Regions from separate parts of the Homo sapiens genome. Here all the other regions are linked to region 2. Evidence: promoter capture Hi-C in human tissues and cell types (Jung and others, 2019). All regions are on one chromosome and are shown on one strand. Each heading gives the region's core, a stretch centred on a gene start or on the middle of the fragment in contact. The rest is flanking DNA. Distances are from core to core; before and after follow the strand shown. Region 1 overlaps LOC101927711 (a long non-coding RNA gene). Region 2 holds the start of MAP10 (microtubule associated protein 10). Region 3 overlaps LOC107983960 (a long non-coding RNA gene).

The links. Contacts are between HindIII fragments. The study calls those that stand out against the background at their distance.
Region 1: a fragment that was not itself captured here is called in contact with the fragment with the promoter of MAP10 in region 2 in 1 of the 25 tissues and cell types used here (mesenchymal stem cells).
Region 3: a contact is called between a fragment that was not itself captured here and the fragment with the promoter of MAP10 in region 2, in 1 of the 25 tissues and cell types used here (neural progenitor cells).

What each region holds. Positions count from the first base shown.
Region 1 is chr1:232,860,143-232,863,974 of GRCh38, reverse strand. All of the region lies in intron 4 of LOC101927711 (a long non-coding RNA gene), which reads right to left. Among named protein-coding and RNA genes, the nearest start is that of MAP10, 57 kb to the right of the region's middle. The HindIII fragment of the contact is 7,376 bases long and covers 1-3,832 here.
Region 2 is chr1:232,804,154-232,807,821 of GRCh38, reverse strand. It overlaps MAP10 (microtubule associated protein 10), which reads right to left and starts at 2,406. Exons shown (of 1, transcript NM_019090.3): 1 at 1-2,406. The coding sequence starts at 2,372. RefSeq lists enhancers at 1,417-2,013, 2,223-2,302, 2,014-2,611. The HindIII fragment of the contact is 7,984 bases long and covers 1-3,668 here.
Region 3 is chr1:232,751,811-232,755,576 of GRCh38, reverse strand. LOC107983960 (a long non-coding RNA gene) reads right to left here. Exons shown (of 5, transcript XR_949277.1): 4 at 1,272-1,339. Among named protein-coding and RNA genes, the nearest start is that of LINC01744, 11 kb to the right of the region's middle. The HindIII fragment of the contact is 6,788 bases long and covers 1-3,766 here.

The sequences.
Region 1 (3,832 bases), core at 325-2,824, 57 kb before region 2:
CTGGATAGAGACACTGTCACTGATAAATAAGACCCCCTGGTTCATGGAGTCCCTCGGAGCCTAACCACAAAGATGGACCTTAGAGATCGGAATAATTAAGTGTTTGTTTTTTATGACTAATGATAAGACGGCATATGGGCATATATCCTGTGGGATGAATATTTTACACACTTAACCTTATTAAAACAGCTTGGGTGGGTAGATTTCTTCAGGCAGTTTTAAAGCATTATGCTATCTCCAGGAAAGCAAACGTCTTCTGGCTATTGTGTGAGCAGATGGGAAGTGCTGAGAAAATCTGGAGATCAGACTCTTTGGCAACCATAGCACCCTATTAAATTGGTTTATACAATGATGGATACCCACAATAAACTAACAAGGTGGTTTCTGAAGTTGCCAGAATTTTCTCTTTTTTTGTATTTCAATTATAAAAACAGTAAAAATAATCTGTACATTTGTCTTTGGGTATATACTAGAAAGGTGAGAGAAAAGATAAGGGAACTCAAAGACTTTCTTAATTCTAAGGCCACCTTTGCCCGGATGACAAGCATCCCTTTTACGGTCCTTTGCTACCTAGCCATTCTGCTAGCTTATACTCAAGGAGGTTGTGATAGATCCAGCATCCAACTTCAGAAACCAGTCGATCATTTAATTCTTATTAATTATAAGAAGAACAGAACTATGCCATTCTGTACCTTCTTAAAGATAGAAACTACTTTAGAACAAAATTTATCCATGTTTAGTACTTAATTCAGGCAGATTTCTAATGTTTAACTATCTAACTGGAGGTCAAAGATATCAAAAGTTGCTAATAAGATCTAACATAATCAATACCATTCTATTGCATTACAAAGCCAAACTTTGATGGAAGTCAAAGCCCTATTCAAGACATTTCACTGAGCATACAACTTCAAATCAGTTCATTGATTGTTGTACATTTAAATCAAGCCGTTAAATTAACTTGACTGATCCTTCCAAGTGATCATTTATATTGAAATGAGCTGTTTGGGAGGGTGATGCAAACACAGCTTAAAAGCCTTCACAAATAGTAGAGTTGTGTTGGTGGTGGTGGAGTTTGTTGGTTGGTTTCGTTTTTTTTTGTCTTTGAGACAGGGTTTCACTCTGTCACCCAGGCTGAGTGCAGTGGCGCAATCACAGCGCACTGCAGCCTCGAGCTTGACCAATCCTCCCACCTCAGCCTCCTGAGTAGCTGGGACTACAGGCATGCATCACTAAGCCTGGGTAATTTTTAATTTTTTTTTTTTTTTGGAGACAGTCTTGCTCTGTTGCCCAGGCTGGAGTGCAGTGGCACGATCTCAGCTCACTGTGCAACCTCTGTCTCCTGGCTTAAAGCAATTCTCCTGCCTCAGCCTCCCGAGTAAGCTAGGACTACAGGCACACACTGCCACGCCTGGCTAAATTTTTGTATTTTAGTAGAGACGGGGTTTCAACGTGTTTCCCAGGCTAGTCTCGAACCCCTGAGCTCAGGCAATCCTCCTGCCTCGGCCTCCCAAAGTGCTAGGATTACAGGCATGAGCCACCACACCCAGAGTTTTCTTTTTTAGACATGTTCTCACTCTGGTTGCCCAGGCTGGAGTGCAATGGCACAATCTCGGCTCACTGTAGCCTCGACCGCCTGGGCTCAGGTGATTATCCCACCCCAACTCCTCGAGTAGCTGTGATTACAGGCGTACACTACCACACTTGGTTAATTTTTTGTATTTTTAGTAGAGTCGGGGTTTATCTATGTTGCCCAGGGCGGTCTCAAACTCCTGGACTCATGCAACCTGCCCACCTCAGCCTCCCAGAGTGCTGAAATTACTGGTGTGAGCCACTACGCGCGGCCTAGTAGTTTTTAGAGGCCCCAGGGTTGCTTCCTAAATGACTGTGACCTTACTACATTTTATACACAACTGAACAAAGCACGAACTCTCAGTTCTATTCCAGCTTCACGGAGCACCAAGAAGGAAATTGTTGCTTAAATATTTGCAAACGAAAGTTTAAAAGACCATACAGTGTTGTTAAAATCCAGTTTTCACTATTTCTGAGTTGAACCTCTGACACTTCTACAGGTATGGCCAATGAGAAGAACCTGCATTCAATGTAGAGAGAACAGGATTCTTGTGCTACTGGAAATCTTTAACAATTATAAATCAAACAGAGATTAGGCTTTTAGAATAACATTCTCACATAGAAAATTCCTTGATTGGCCATCTAGGTATATTCCCTGGCTTGTTTAAGCAAAATCAACCTTGTGCCATTCTGCACGACAACAGCTCTGCCCAGCAGTCACCAATCATCATTAGAACAAGGCTTAGGAGTCAGTGATTTCACACATTCTTCTGTTATCCTTGAGCATCCCTGGGCATTTTCAGTGGATAGCCATGAGAAACAAAAAATCAATTTGCCACTGTATAAACTGCCAAATAAGAATCATGACAGTTTATCCAGCCTGTTTGTGAAGATGCCCACAAACCCTATAGAGATTCTGCCAGCCAGCTTAGGCCGCAGGTCTCCATCCTGCCTTTGCGAATGTTCTCTCCCCCATGGCTGGAACCAGGTAATTCTCACTGCAGGCTCAGCAATGTGCTTTGTCCCTGGAATCAATTTTGGTCTGAGGCAGGAGGCATTAGGCCAGTTCCAAAGGTGATATTCAAAGGATATGCACATATACACACACACATATATATACACACAGACACACTCATACATGCATGACACACCCATGCATACACATAACGTTTGTTGTTGCTGTTGCTGCTACTTTGACCTGATGTGGTAACTCCGTTTCTCTAATCAAGCTTCCCTCCTGGGCATTACTTCTAGGTTCTGGTCTAGGATCCCAGCACACTGCTGATTCTGGGTTTCTACTTATATCATCTCTGTCCCCTTTCTGGGACAAGAGCCCTGCAGCCTATAGACAGATGTCTGCTACACTGACTATCATTCAAAAAGACTGTGTACTGCACACTCCAGAGCACCCTCCCTTTGTAAGAACTTCTTATTGGAAGACATTATTATGTCTTTCTGTCGCCATTTTGAACCCTTTGCTCGCACTGAGCATGGATGGCTGTATTGACTGGACACTTTGCTTTCCCATCATACCACCACTTCACAGCACTTTCAGCTGGTCCCTCTCATCTGGGTGCTCAGGTGGGTCCGGTTCCAGGACTTGGCCATTTCCCACTTTCCAGAAATATTTTAGAAATTACTAAAAACTCACTGGGAGTAAGAGTTGCCAGGTTTAGTAATAAAAGCACAGGATGCCCAGTTAAATTTGAATTTAAGATAAACAATGAATAAGGTTTTAATATAAGTATATCCCATACAATTATAAAATGCTCTTCATTGTTTATGTGAAATACGAATTTACCCAGGTGTCCTGTGATTGACTTGGCAGCTCTATTTGAAATGCCATGTTGAGTTCACAGATGCCTTTTGAAGATTGCAGCCTCTGGGGTCTGTTTTCTTACTAAAAGCTTAACGCTTGGGGCCGTTCGCTCCACTACCTTGCTCACACCTCCTCCAGGAAGAACAGAGTTGGCTCTGCCCAGCAGCCACCTCTATGCTGTGGAGAAATCTTGCTCTTCAAAGCTTTTCTTGCTATTGGATATGTGGAGTTCTTTGAAGTGATAAGACTCAAGTTCTTTGTCTGGAGGAACCACTGTCCACTGTATTTCCAAGTTTCTTAAGGATTCCCTTGCTCAAGGAATTCTAACAGTATCCAGGGCCCTGTGCTGTCTTTCTGGGCTTCAGGGTGTCGGGAAAAGCAGTGCTTAGCTCTCTTTCTCACTTTGGACAGAATGTGAACATTCCTCAGTCACTCAGTCTGAAA
Region 2 (3,668 bases), core at 1,157-3,656:
GCTTCCTCCAAACTTTTATCCTGAGTCTTTGAAATATGAAATTTTCTGTATGAGTGTACAGGTGACCCGGCTGAAAAAGGTGGGCTAAGGATAGAACTCCTGTCACTACTATTTTTCTTTTTGGACACTCCTGTGTCACTAGACTTGCTTGTATATTGACTATGTTTTGGATTTTCTGTCCTTGAACTGCTATCATGAGCTTTGAAACTTCTGCTGGTGTCCTCACTGGTACAGAAATCTTCAGAATAGCAAGGGCTAGACAAATCATCTGAATACTTCAGTTCTGAGATGTTTTCATAGCAACTATTTTTACCTGTTCTCTTGTCACTTATATCAGCCATAAGAATGTCATTATCTGTGGTTTTGACCTGTCTAATATCTATTTCCTTATCTACAATTCTGTCAACAACAGCATCCTGTTGGAAAACACATGGACTTTGGATTTTCATTTCCACATTTCCTCCCAGAATATTTGTAGGGGTAAGCCTTTCTGGAATAATGGAATTTGCAGGACTCACAACTTCTTCCAATGAAACATTATTGATTCTATTTTTACTACAATCAACTGTCTTTTTTTCAGTTGCATATTTCAGTTTAGTTTCTTTACTTGTGCTGGGCTCATCAAAAACTCCACTGATTTGTCTTGAGGTATCACTATTTTCAGTGAAAGATGCATCTGAATCTAAATACTTATCTTCAGGCAGTTGTGGCTTCTGACTTTGTTCTGCAGAGCTTAATAGTTTAACTTTGGATGACGGAATTCTGAATTTTGTACCCAACATTTGTGATTGTCTTTTTCTATATAGTTCTCTTTTTTCATGTACCACCAACATATCAGGATTTGTCAGCTTTAAACGTAGTCTTAGTGTATTTGTTAAGCCATAAAGTAGCCTCCCTTTTGGAACTCTTTTATGGAGGGCACCACTGCTCTTTTCAGAATATTTATCTTCCTTATAGTTTTCAATTTGGTTCTTTTTATACTGAAGACTCACTGACTTTTCACATCCCCCCACAGAACGCTTATCCTTCTTGGCTTCAGACCGGCATGTGGATTTGGCAGAAGATTCGGGTGACTTCTTATCCTCAGTCCTATATAACCAGGCTAGGTGAGGATGTATATGAGCAGGACTTGTCACAGGTTGGTCATATAACAAGGACAACTCAACTAACAAAGCATTTAACAAAGGCAACTGCCTTATTGTATTAATTCGATTTTGTTCAGTTTGACATGTTTGATTAGTTGCTCCTATATTCTGAATATGTGGAGGATTTACAAGCATTGGAGGATGTTCGTGTGCTGCAGAACTTGGATGCTTTAGACAACTCCTGTGTGCTGGGGGATTTACACGCTTTTTTTCAGGAGAAGCATCATCCATTTCCTCAGGTGCATTCATTTGAGGCTCAATGGTGATTTTAGCCTGTGCAGGGGGCGGTTTTTCTTGGGTCAAGTTAGTGTAATACAAAGGAGGAGGGCAAAATATATTGGTCTCCATGTCCAATTCTGTGACTTCCTCATTTAGGGAGCTAACATTTCTCCCATTGCCAGCACCTGAACATGTAACAACAGAATTGGTTTTGCCATTCTCCACAGAACCCACATTATCACATTCGGCCTTACTTTTAACCATTTCCTTCAAATCCTTCTGTGCCTCTGGGATTTCTAACTCCCCCAGCGGCTTATCAGCCTCTTTTGGGCTTGGCTGTGAGGCTGGCTGCTGCAGCTGCTGTCTTTCCTGCTGGGTTTGGGGACTGACCTCCGCTCCTCCTCCTGTGCGGGTGAAGGTGAGGGGCCGCTCAAGTTGGCTCAGCAGGCGGCTTCCCAGGTCAGTCAGGCGGTAGGCCAGTGCAATGTCCCCAGTCCGCTCGCCCACTCGATTATGCAGGGGGAAACGTCCCCGGTGACGGTGGGAGCATCCGGAGGCGGCCGGCCCCACGACCCTGTGCGCTGCGGTGGCCAGCGAAATGTCGCAGGCCCCCAGGAGCTGTGGGGTGGGCGTCGGGCGCCCAGGGGGCAGCTGCAGCAGCAAGGTGGCAAGCGGGGTCCGCAGGAGCCGGCAGTGCAGGGTAGCAGGCTGCAGGCGGAAGAGGCAGGACTTGCCGCGACCGAAGCGGATGACACCGGGCCACGGTTCGGCGGCGGGAGCGCCGGGGCCGTCAGGAGGGTAAACCAACAGCGTGGGGAAGTCCAGCAGGCGGAAGGCCACGGCGGGGCACAGACCGCGCGGCGACGAGGCCTCCCCCTGCTCCTTTTCCTCCTCTTCCTCCTCCTGCTCCACTGCGGCAGCGGGGGACGGCAGCAGCCGGGCTTCCAAACGCACCCAGTCCACCAGCAGCTCCAGCGAGAAGAGCCGCTCGGACAGCGAGGCCGCCATTGCTGTTGCCCCAGGAAACGCCGCCGCGGGCTCCGCAAACGAGAAGCTGAAGCCCCGGGGTCTCACGAGAAACCGGAGCAAAAGGCATCGCTGCCTGCTATCTCGCGAGATTTGCGGAAGCGCTCCAGCGGGTCTCGGGCGGTGTCTGCTTTGGGGGTTTTGCTGCTCAATGTGTTTGGCCCCTTTGTATGCATACTTGTGAGCCGTTTTTTGCCACCAACCTTGTATTAAGACAATTGATGATAATGCTGAGGATATAAGTGGTAAAAGACAGTGAGTTTTTTGGGTAATGGTTTTATCACTGCAGATCTTATGTAACTTGGGGGTCAGATCAATATACCTGAGGAATATTGAAAGAAAATCAGGACTCTCCTTCCTTTCCCATGCTAAACAGAGCCAGTTAGTTAACTGTCCACAGTGGGCCATCTCTGTGTCTGCTGTTCTACCCAAAAGATGGTGACACTGCTGGGATGGCCAGGGAGCCCCTGCCTCATCAATTACAGTAGTACTGAGACAGACACACCACACACACACGGAGTGTGAATACACTGGCAAAAACTCTCCTTGGCTGAACTTTGGTCAGGCTCATCTAAGCCTTCTTTCCGACTAGGCCTTGACCTTGGCTTCCAATCCTGTGGACCCTGGATCACCGAGTTGTAGCAAAGGTCTCGCTACGGCTGTTGAGAGAGAACCCCCAACCCTTCATACCTGATTACCGTCGATACCTGATCAAATTCTTCATTTTCTATCATTGGTATCTGACCACCCTGGCCTGGCTTCAGCAAGAATCCTATTAGGCCTGCTTAATCAGAACCCTCCCACCCGTGATGTTCCCTATCAGTAAGTTTCCATCCACTTGACCTGACGCCCCCTTGGCTTTAAATCCCCACTTGTCCATGCTGTAATTGGAATTGAGCCCAGCTCTGTATTGAGGTCTCTTTTCTCTTATTGCAGTAGTTCCTGACTACAGTGTTTTTGCCACTTCAACTACTGTCTGGCCCTGTTTTTTATTTGACAACATTTCCAGCTAAGCAATCATGATGCATGAGAGTAATGTTAATGATTCCATCAATAAAACAAATGTGTGTACATAAATATACACACATCTACAGAGACACACAGAACTTGCTGCTCTATCCAGATATTTTAAGAAACATACTCCTAACCTCAATGAGCTAGCCAGCTAGGAATCCAAGGCCAGTTTTTGGAGAGCCTTGAATGCCATGGTAAAGAATTTGGACTATATTCTGTCCAAATTTTTTTGATTGAATAAGTACATCATAGCAATATTTGGAA
Region 3 (3,766 bases), core at 575-3,074, 52 kb after region 2:
AGAGTAACATAGCCACATATGGGGAGTAACATAGCCGGATATGGTGAGACTAACATAGCTAGATAGAAGGGGAGTAACATAGCGAGTTATGGGGAGAGTAGCATAGCCACATATGGGGAGTAACATAGCTGGATATGATGAGACTAACATAGCCACATATGGGGGAGTAACATAACCAGAGATGGAGAGTAACTTGCCAGATATGGGGAGAGTGACATAGCCTCATATTAGGGAGTAACATAGCCATCTATGATGGAAGTAACATAGCCATATATGAGGGGAGTAATATAGCCATAGATGGGGAGAGTAACATGGCCACATATGGAATAGTAACTTAGCCAGATATGTGGGAAGTAACATAACCAGATATGGGGAAACCCTGACACATATGTGAGAGTAACAGCCAGAGATGATGAGTAACATACTCAGATATGACGGGAGTAACAGCCAAATATAGAGGTAGTAACATAGTCAGAGATGGGGAGTAACATAGCCAGATATGGAGAGAGTAACATAACCACATATGGGGAAGTAACATAGCCAGATATCAGGGGAGTAACATAGCCATTGGTGGCAAGTAACTTAGCCAAATATGGGAGGAGTAACACAGCCAGATATGGGGAGTGACATAGCCACATATGGGGGAGTTAACATATCCAGATATGGGGAGTAACATAGCTAGATATGGGGCAGTAACATAGCCAGAGATGGTTGGAATAACATAGCCAGATATGAGAAGTAACATAGCCAGAGATGGGGGGAGTAACATAGCCAGATATGGGCAGTAACATAGCCAAGTACAGGCATAACAAAGCCGGAGATGGGGAGTAACACAGTTCTGTAGAGAGTGTGTATTTATGTGTGGTGTCAGTTAAAGGGTATTGTATTCGTTTCCTGTGGCTGTGATGACAAATTACTACACATTTGGTAAATTAACAAAAATTTCCCTCTCAGAGTGCTGGAAGCCAGGTCTGAGATTAATGTGCCAGCAGGGCCAGGCTCCCTCCAGAGGGTCTAAGGGAGTTCTCTGTTCACCATATCCAGCTTCTGGTGTTGCCAACATTGCTGCACGTCCTCAGCCTTCCTTAGCACTTCCGTCTCTGCCTCCAACTTCACATCACCTTCTCCTCTGTTTGCGTCTGTCTCTCCCTTATAAAGATGCTTGTGAAGACTGTCTTACCTAAAGATCTTTAACTTAGGCATATCTGCACAGACCCTATTTCCAAATGAGGTCACATTTACAGGCTTCCAGAATTAAGATGTGAACATACCTTTGAAGTCATTCTCAGCCCACCTCAGGCATCAAACCTTATTCAGGCCAGGATCACCTCCATATCACCTGGGGGATCCAGGACAGAGAGATGCTGATCTAAGTGCTAGCATGTATGTAATATATCTGACAGTGAGTTATTACTGGATTTAATGGCGCGATGTCTACACACGACATAAAACTGTTGGGAGGGTGGGGTAGAGAGGCAAATTGCAACCTGAACTTAAGAAAAAGTTGAAGGTTTGATGGCATCACCATGTATTTTATTGAACTTACCTATAAATTATCCTGGATACTTTACACACCATTATTTAAACTATATTTTATGTAATTTTTTTCTTAGATCAAATTGTCTTTTTGTAGTAAATAATCTTTGAACAAATCTTAACTCTAGAGAAGGTCTGTTTCTGAGTTCTTGAATGTTTACAAATACTTTTATATCATTGCCCTACCATTTGAATGCTTTTTGGTTGGATATGAAACAATTGGTTTAAAAATAATTTTTCCTCAGAACATCTCAGAATGTTTTTATTTTGAGATAGGGTCCAAATCTGTTGCCCAGGCTGGAGTGCAGTGGTGCAATCACAGCTCACTGCAGCCTCAACTACTGAGCTCAAGAGATCCTACCACCTTGGCCTCAAAAGTGCCGGAATTACAGTCATAAGCCACCATGCCTGACTGTTTTTTTTTTTTGTTTTTTTTTTTTGAGGTGGAATCTCGCTGTGTCATCAGGCTGGAGTACAGTGGCACGATCTCGGCTCACTGCAACCTCTGATCCTGGGTTCAAGCAATTCTCCTGCCTCAGCCTCCCAAGTAGATGGGACTATAGGTCCCTGCCACCATGCCTAGGTAATTTTTGTATTTTTAGTAGAGACAGCGTTTCACCATGTTGGCCAGGCTGGTCTCGATCTCTTGACCTTGTGATCCACCCACCTCAGCCTCCCAAAGTGCTGGGATTACAGGTGTGAGCCACTGCGCCCGGCCCAGATTTTTTTTCAACATACAGTTTTGCCAATAAGAATTTCGATGACAACATAATTCTAATTTCTACATAGGTAATCTATTTTTCCTCTAGGAGTTTTTCGAAATATCTGTATTCTCTATAGCTCTAAGACTTCATAAAGATACATTCTAGCCTGGGTGCAGTGGCTCATGCCTGTAATTCCATTAGTTTGGGAGGCCATGATGGGAAGACTGTGGGAGCCTAGAAGTATGAGACCAGCATGGATAACATAGTGAGACTGTCTCTACAAAAAATACAAAAATTAGCCATGCATGGTGGCATGCACCTGTGTTCCCAGCTATTCAGGAGGATGAGGTGGGAGAATGCTGTGAGCCATGATGGCACCACTGCACTCCAGCCTGGATGACAAAGTGAGAATGTCTCAAAAAAAAAAAAAAAGATACATTCTAGATGCATCTTATCAATTTATATTGCTTAGGGATTATTATTTCTCTTATAATATATGTGGGTGGCTCTTTTTATGTAAAAAAAAAAATCTATGTTTCTCTTCAGCTATGATAAATTTTTATTTTTCTTTATAATTTTCTCCATTTAATTTTTTTCTATTTCTGAAACCATATTAGATATGTTGGAACTCTTGAAATGAGCTTTCCTGTCTTTGAACTCTTTCCCCATCTTTTTATCTTTTTGCTGTATGTTTTGGAATATTTCCTTAACTTTATCTTTTAGGTCACAGGTCACTAAACTACACTAAACTGTAGTCCATGGGCCGAATCCAGTCCACCACCTATTTTTGTAAGTAAAGGTGAATTTTGTAAATAAACTCTTTCTTGTTTGTATAGTATTTTGTAAATAAACCCTTTCTTCTTTGTATATTGTCAGGGACTACTTGCCTACTACCCTGGCAGATTGAGTAGTTGTGACAGAGACAACATAGTCTGGAAAACCAAAAATATTTAAAATCTGGCCTTTCACAGAAAAAAAAAAAATTCTGACCTTTGTTTTAGGTCACTAATTTGTCCTTTATTGTGCCTGTTCTTCTATTTATTCCTTCCAGTAAGTGCTCTATTTTTGTAATTCCATAATCCTAAGAACTATTGTTTGTCCTCTGTTTCTTTTCCATAGAAGTCTATTCTTGTTTTAGGGGGCAATGTCATCTTGAATCCTCTGGAGGATATTAAATAGAAAGTTTGGCAGTTCATTTCTCTATTGTGGATTTTCTGTTTTCTCTAGGGTCAATGTTCTGTCTCTTTCTCTTACTTCCTTTTTAATTTAATGGTTTCCTCCCTTAAGCATGTCCGTTTATGCCTAAGGATGAAGAACTGGATGAGTTAATACCACATAGGTGACCAGTGTGGGTTTCCTCTTCAGTTGAGGAGGGAGTCACCGGCAGCGGAGCCCTGCGTTCTGCAGACGGCTCTTTAATTACCCTGATCATTGCCAAAGGGCCTCCTTCTGCTCTCCGTAATTGTTAATACTCAGCTTGGAGTTTCTCTACAACTGCTCTTGTCTTCCTAGTAGGTTTTTTTTTT